Regions from separate parts of the Homo sapiens genome. Here region 2 is linked to region 1. The links are contacts of gene promoters, found by promoter capture Hi-C in blood cells and fetal thymus (Javierre and others, 2016). All regions are on one chromosome and are shown on one strand. Each heading gives the region's core, a stretch centred on a gene start or on the middle of the fragment in contact. The rest is flanking DNA. Distances are from core to core; before and after follow the strand shown.

Region 1 (3,693 bases), core at 78-2,577:
TATAAAGATTTTGTTGGACACAAGGCTATGTGGTAAGGCAAAATGGTAAGATGGTGGCATGACACCCCCTTGTGGTTTCCACCGATTCCCGGTTCTGTGCTAGATACTAACTATTCTAGGATTTAAAAATGTCTCTACATTTCTTCGAACTTTAATTCGGGCCATACTAGCATTCGTGAGCATTTATTTGAGCTGAGTACGCACATAAAACTTAGGAGGTCATAAAAACTGAGCCTCACAAACAAGTAGTGTCTCTTTCAAATATAGCTTTATCTCCTGGGGGATGGTGAAGGGATCAGAGTAAAGTCTGTGATTATTACTTTCCAGCGATTGATTGGTTGATTGGCATGTGGTTGTCAGAAAAAGCAGTGGACGTGAACAAAGAGACATCATTGCAGCCCTAACTATCCGAGTGACCTTGGGTACCTGATAATCCACATGGCTCTCAGTCATCCTCTTAACCGTTTGAACCTCAGGGGTTTAGGCTACCAAAATGAATTAAGACCCAGTCTTTAGCTTCTCACACATTTACTTTTCCATTTTGTAAAATGTGACTAAAAACCTCAACTCATTGTCAAAAGGACTGAATTAAACATATCACCACACTTGCACAGAGATCATTTATGGAACCATGTTCACAAATTTATTTATGCTCGTGTAATTTAATCATTTCTACAGCTGCTCAAAGAAAGTCAAAGTCGAGAAAGGACTTAAATCGTCGAGTCCAGTCCCCCTTAACTCCTCATTCATTCCACTATTTCTCGAGCCAAGGAATCGGGTGAAACTCAACAACGACTCGCAGTCTTCAGGTTTCACCCTCTTGCCCTGAGGGCAGCATCCTAGCCCTAGGTGGTTCTCTGGTGTGGCCTCAGTAAAACCGTGACGAGGTCCTCGGCCTCTCTGTCCCCAACAGGCGGCTGGCACACTTCGGGGTCTGAGATGCCATCTGCCTTGCCTAACCTGGGCAAGACCACTCGCGTCCTTTCCCTTGAGGAGCAGCGTGGGAAAGGTGCCGCTGCGCGCCACGTTTCTCCCAGTTCCCCAGGGCTTGAAGGGGCGGTGGAGGCGGGCGGGATAAATTCGCTGGCCGCCTGGCGTGGAGTAATCCTAGAGGGTGGGATCGCCCTCGGGGCTCGGGAGGGGCTCTTCCCCGCCCAGAAGGAGACTGCGGCGGCGCAAGGCCTCCGGCAGGGGGCGCGGGCCGCTGGGCCTCCCCCGGGGCTGCGGGCCGGTGGTCCCTCCCAGGCCGCGTGTGCGGTGCGTTCGCGCAGCCCGCTCCCTGCCCCCACCTCACCTCGTCACCTCCCCGCCCTCTCGGCGGGCCCCTGAGGTGCGCGGCGCAGGCGCGGAGCGTGGCGGCCAGGGCAGTGCGGCCGCGGAGCCTAGGCCAGGGGCCTGGCGCTCAGGGCGTGGGGCGCGCGGGGAGGGAGAGGGGTCGGCCCAGCACAGCGTCCGGGAGCGCTAGGGCCGGAGCAGCGCTGCCCGCCGCCGTGCGTCCGCGGGAAGGACCGCGCGGCCCCTCCGCCTGCGCTCTCGGCCGCCGCCGCCTCTGCGTGGGCCGGCCGGGAGGGCCTCGGGGGACTGACTGGTGAGTGTGAGGGAGGAGCGGGTGGGTCGGGCGCTGGACTGCTCCAGGGGACGCGGGCGTGCGGGCGCATCTTCTAACGGGAGAGGGCGGGAGAGACCGGAGCTCCCTTTATACGGAAACTCTGCCTTCGTTATATGGCGGGATGGCGTTCCCCTCCCCCATCCCGAAGGCAGTTCCACCCCCTGCGCAGGACGCCTTGGCCGGGCTCCCCTCGGCCCCCTGCTGCCGTTGTCTTTACGGAACCTTTGGTGTCGGGGCTTGGAAGTCTCCTTGGCGCCGGCTTCTGGGCCCGGGCGAAGCTGGTGCGTGGCGCCGGGGTGGAGGCGGCTAAGTCCCAGGGACTTCTGCCCTGCGCCTCCGACGGGCATTTGTCTGGCTGCGTCCGGGCTCGGGACGATCCTGGGTCCTCGCTGGCGCTGCGGCCCTGCCCGGCGGCTTCGTGACCTCCGGCGGCGAATCCCCGGGCTCGCGCAACGAGTTGTAGCCGCGGAGAGCAGGCGTCGATGCTGGCGCCCAAAGCCTCCAGCCTGAGAGTCGCCTCACTCGTGTGACGGTGCTTAGAAACCCCCTTTTTTGGTTTTGTCTTTAAGTACTGTCTAGGGAAACGAATCATTTGAAGCAGTTTATGCCTTTTTTGTTTTTTTCGAAGAGAAAGATTTATGCCGGACTGAAAAATAGCGAATCAAGTATTTAGTGACCGTGTGATATTGCAGTAAAGACTGCCTCCACGTTGGACATGTAGTGGATTCTAGTTCAGGCTCTCCTGCAACATGTTTTTGTTTCAATTCTTTTACAATTTAAAGCATATGCTTATTTTAATGAGAACGAAAAAGAAAGCTTAACTCTTTTTAAACTCGTTAAAAATGGAGTTATTTACTGTAAAGACGTCTTACAGCAATTAGGAAGAATATACATTGCATGAAAGGCCTTTTGAAACGTTTATCTATTTGATGATTGCTGACTGCCTGTTGTATGTATTCTATTTTGTGCATAGACTTTCTTGTTGGTTGAAAAAAATGACAGGTGGAAAGATGTTGGTTTCTAGGTGATATAAAAAATTTTTAAACATTTTTCTGATTTTTCTGCAGTGACACGTGTTACATATGTCGTTTGTATTTCAGAGGGAGGGGGGACTGTGATAGGTTGCTTGTGATTCAGAATCTTCCTGCTAAGAAGACTAGTGAGCAAATGTTTATGACATCCTTGAGTAGAAAGCTAAGTTTTTTCAAGGCTGTTATGCACACAAAAGGCACATAAAAATGATTGCTAAAATGAAGGATGGTTAGCATTTTTGGTCTTGAGTAGGCATCACCATTGTGCTGAAAGGAAGTCCGATAGACATTTGGTTATCGTTCGGCCCTAAGTAGGAGTCAGACCCTTCCTGATCCGTGTGCCTCCTCCTCTCACCTAACAGCCTGAATCCAGGCCAGCTTGCAACGTTGATTTTAATACCACGCTTGGTTTCCTTTTCTTACTTTTATTCTTCAAGTTGCAAAGAACTTGAGATGCATTCTGAAATAACAAGAGACTACTTAACATGTTCGGCTGAGTGTTTTCAGTGTTCTCCCTGATACTTTTAGAGTATTTAGAACATGAAGTGTGAAGCTTTGGGCTATATGAATCGTAATAGCTCTTCTCTTTTTGATTTTTGAATGCAGTGAATTGAGATGGTTACTCAAGGAATGATTGTTTACATTGTTAGGTGAGGCGTTTGATTTTATTCTTTTTTCTTTCTTTCTTTCTTTTTTAGACAGAGTTTCACTCCTGTTACCCAGGCTGGAGGACAATGATGTGATCTCGGGTCACCACAACCTCCGCCTCCCGGATTCAAGCGATTCTCATGCCTCAGCCTCCCGAGTAGCTCAGATTACAGGCATGTGCCACCACGCCCGGCTAATTTTGTATTTTCAGTCGAGACGGGGTTTCCCCATGTTGGTCAGGCTAGTCTTGAATTCCCGACCTCAGGTGATCTGTTCGCCTCGGCCTCCCAAAGTGCTGGGATTACAGGCGTGAACCACTGCACCCGGCGAGGTGAGGTATTTTATATATTGGTATCATTTCTGTACATTTCATGGTTGTCTGTTTCTTTAGGCTATTCTGTTCCC
Region 2 (3,644 bases), core at 71-2,570, 4.9 Mb before region 1:
TCATATTATAAAAATGGATAAAAAGCAATACGGTGAAAGTAGAAACAAAGGGGAGGGAAAATGAAAGTGGGAGAAACGGTTGCTTGTTTTGGAATCTGTAACTGTAAGCTCCTGGTGGGTGGATACTCGTACATTAAGTAACTAGTTTGGCTTTTAAGTTCACTTCTCAAATCTTTATTCACACTCTTTTCTTCTAAAATTGACAGAAGTACAGAAGGGAACATCACACAGTAAAACTAACCAGAATGCGTCCATCTGGCATGCCTTTCAGGAATCCAGCCCACTAATATTTGCTGTGGGTTTCATGACTCAACCCTTCAAGATGCCGCACAAGGAAGAATTTCCTCATTTTGCAGAACTGCCAAATCTCATTCACTGGAGCAAAGGCTCCTCATTTGGGGCTCATTTTTAGACAGTTGTTTCTCTGTTTATACATTGTAAAAATCTCCCTCAGCGGATGGAGTTTGTCATGCATTTCTAAATAGTGAGTAAACATATTCCTCCACTCCCTCCCGGCAGGACACACTTCAGCATTTTGGCCACTGAGCCTAGTTGAATTTCTCTCTCCTTCCTTCCTCCCCTCTTCCCACGCAGCCTAGCTTTATTCTTGCTTCCTTGGTTTTATTTCTTCCTCTCTTCCTCCCTTTTTCTTCCTTCCCTACCTTCAGCCACATCTTTCAGCCTCGTTTGTTCCTTGGAGGCTTTTATTCACCCCTCTTCCTCTCTTCTTTCCTCCTTCCCCCTTCTTCCTTCCCTCGCTTCAGCTACTTCTCTTAGCCCCGTTTGTTCCTTCCAGGCTCCACTTTCTTCTCTTCCATTGGTAATTTGTCTAATTTACTCCACTTGAAAAAAGAAAAATCTTGATTTATATTCGTATCTTCTTCCATTCAAAACTGTTATCTAAGTTCCTCTTTATTATCTCCTCCCTCCTATTTTAAAATAACAATTAACATTTAGCGAGTGCTAAGTGCAGGCAGGATGCCAAGCTCTCTCGCAGTCTCTCTTGAGGGAGGTACCTTTATTATCCTGTTTCATGGATGAAAAACAAAAGCACAGAATTCAAGTAACTTGCGTAAGTCACGAAGCTATAACCAGGAATTTGGCTCTGCAAGCAATGGGCTTTAAAAATTCTTTTAAAAGTTTTATTAGATTCAAAGACTATGTATAAAATATATGCAAATTATAAACGAAACATATCTTTTGATGGGCACCATGGGGGCAAGTTTCCAGTTTTGCCCATTAAAAAAAAAATCCTTCCCAATTTTTGAGGCTTGTGCCATTGAACACTGCTGCCCGCGGCTCTTCTTCCCACTTGGCTCGACAAACGCGTCTTTTATTATGACTCAGCCCAGCCCGTTCCTTGCCAAGCGGCTGACGCTCGCGGCGGAGGCGCCGGGGCCGCCGCTCGGGGGCGAGGGTTCGCGCCGCGGCTCGCGCCCGCTTCTCCCGCTTTACGGCTGCTGAAAATCCGGCCTGGCCCGGCAGCCGTACCGCAGACGAGCCCGCGCCCGCGCCGCTCAGGTAATCGGAGTCCTTTTCTTTTCAAAGTTTTGCCAAAACAAGCTCCGCGCTCTGAGGCGGCGCGGCCTCGGCCGAGCGGTCCGTGTCTCCTTGCTCCTCCGTCCTACCCAAGCTGGCGCGACTGAGCTGTGGGCCGCACCCCTGCGCGGGGCCCGGGGCGCCGACCCGGCGTGAAGTACGGGGGCCGAGGGGCGCCCGGCCGGCGGCGGGTTCTGAGCGACTCCGCGGGGTGGCGCGCGGGGCACCTGGCTCTGGCAGTCCGCGAGGCGCGCTGGCCAAAGGAGCTCCCAACCCGCTCCAAGGCCCCCGCCCACCTCCCGAAGCCGCTTGTCTTAGGAGAGGAGCGTAGCAGCTCCGAGTCCCCGCTTCTGACACGTTCACACACGTATGCAGTGCACGCCGGCCAGGCAGCCCGACACGGCGCGCTAGCGGGGCGCAGGTAAAGAGCGGCGCCGCGGGCCCGCGCGTTCGAAATGGCGCGCAGCACAGTTCCGCCCCCGCGCGTGGAATGCCGCTCCAGTGGACGCCCAGGATGGCTTTCTTAAGGAAGTTTATGAGAAGCCATGGAAAGAGCAGCCTGGGATCAGAGCCTGCGCTGCTGGTTCTACCCTAACGTCTGGCTTACTACCACATTTGCCCTACAGTTGCATTGCTTCATAGCTCGTCCTCCCTATTTTCCCCCACATTCTTTGCTTTTTTTTTTTTTTCATTTTTCCTTTGTATTGCGTCTCTTGGTGCCTTGTGTTCTTTTCCCCCTCACTTTTAGAATAGCAATTGAATAGCATACAGTAGCCTTTACATTTCAACCTATGGTCCTTAAGCTGTCTTTATTTACTAGGGCTTGCATCCTGAGGAGTGTAAAGGATTAATTAACTGTGGATTAAGTTGCTGGACTGAAAGTTGTGTTGCAGTTATCCCTGCGGAACAGAAAAGATAGACTTTTTTTTTAACCACCCGAGAACCTTAAGATAATGGTGTTGCTTCTGTTGAAGGAATACATCTTGACAAACATTAAAAATTATGTCATAGGATCCTGTAGTATCCACTCCAGTGAGTTCGATTTGGTAACGGTTCTTTGTCATCTGTGAGTTAGATTCTGTGCTGACTGGTGACAGGTTAACAGAGAAGAGATTCCGTTCCTGTCCTCAGGAGAAGGGACCATGGTGAGCACTGGCTTAATCCTACGAAGTGCTCTGGGAGAATGGGGGAGGAAAAGCTTAAAAGGAAGAGTTGGGTTTAAAACTGGATTCTTGGTATTTTAAGTACGATTTTCACCATTTTTTCCCACACCCCAAGAATTCTTAATGGAAAGGGGAATTATTTTAACAATACTTTCACCTTTAATTTTTTAGAGATTTTTTTTCTCCTTTACAATCGGCAGTAATGTCTGATCTCAAGACTTATGGGAAATGTAAAAGTAACTCCTCTTAATAAGGATGACGTAATGCATTCCTGATAACATAAAAAGAGTATTAAAGACCTTTAATGTAGGACGACTAACAAGAATGAAATGTAATTTATTAATTGCTTACATAAAGCATTATTATATTTAGGTAGAACACTCAATACTTATTAGTCAACAATTGTTTGTTGATTGCTTACTGCGTGCCAAGCAGTGTTCTTGACACTGGAATAAAGCAAAGAAGAAACTTCTGGCTTCTTGGAATATACATTCTAGTGGAGGGAGACAGTATATGTAGTACATAAGAAAAATATAAGGTGAAACCGTAATAAGTGCTATGGACTTATTACATAAAGCAGGAAAAAGAGTGTGTGTTTAGTAATTTAAAATAGGATTTTACCGGAAGTCCTCTGGAGAAGGTGACATTTCAGTAGACTTGAAGCAGTTGAGGGAGTAAGCCATATATTTGGGGCAAGAGTTTCCGGGCGCAGAGAAATAGCAAGTGCAGAGGCCGGGCACATTGCTGTGTTCAGGGATCAGCAAAGAAGCTTGTGTAGCTGAAGTGGAATGGAGGATAGAGGAGAAGTAGGATATGGGATTTTAAATGTCATAGGGGCCAGATAGTACTACATGGTCTGCTAAGCTATTGTAATGATAACCTTTACTTGAAGCCATTTGGAGGCCATTGGAGCCTTTTGACAAGAGGAATGACATGATCTAA

The links. The method cuts DNA at HindIII sites, captures the fragments that hold promoters and counts their contacts. A CHiCAGO score of 5 or more calls a contact.
Region 2: a fragment that was not itself captured here is called in contact with the fragment with the promoter of ZNF639 in region 1 in 1 of 17 cell types (fetal thymus); the score reaches 9.5 in fetal thymus.

The regions. Positions count from the first base shown.
Region 1 is chr3:179,321,704-179,325,396 of GRCh38, forward strand. ZNF639 (zinc finger protein 639) reads left to right here and starts at 1,328. Exons shown (of 6, transcript NM_001303426.2): 1 at 1,328-1,588. RefSeq lists silencers at 1,058-1,497, 1,528-1,667 and enhancers at 2,238-2,287, 3,329-3,428. The HindIII fragment of the contact is 4,241 bases long and covers 1-2,423 here.
Region 2 is chr3:174,439,512-174,443,155 of GRCh38, forward strand. It overlaps LOC105374226 (a long non-coding RNA gene), which reads right to left and starts at 1,138. Exons shown (of 4, transcript XR_924729.3): 1 at 1-1,138. It also overlaps a transcript of NAALADL2 not described here. RefSeq lists enhancers at 1-608, 1,237-1,888. The HindIII fragment of the contact is 2,830 bases long and covers 1-2,735 here.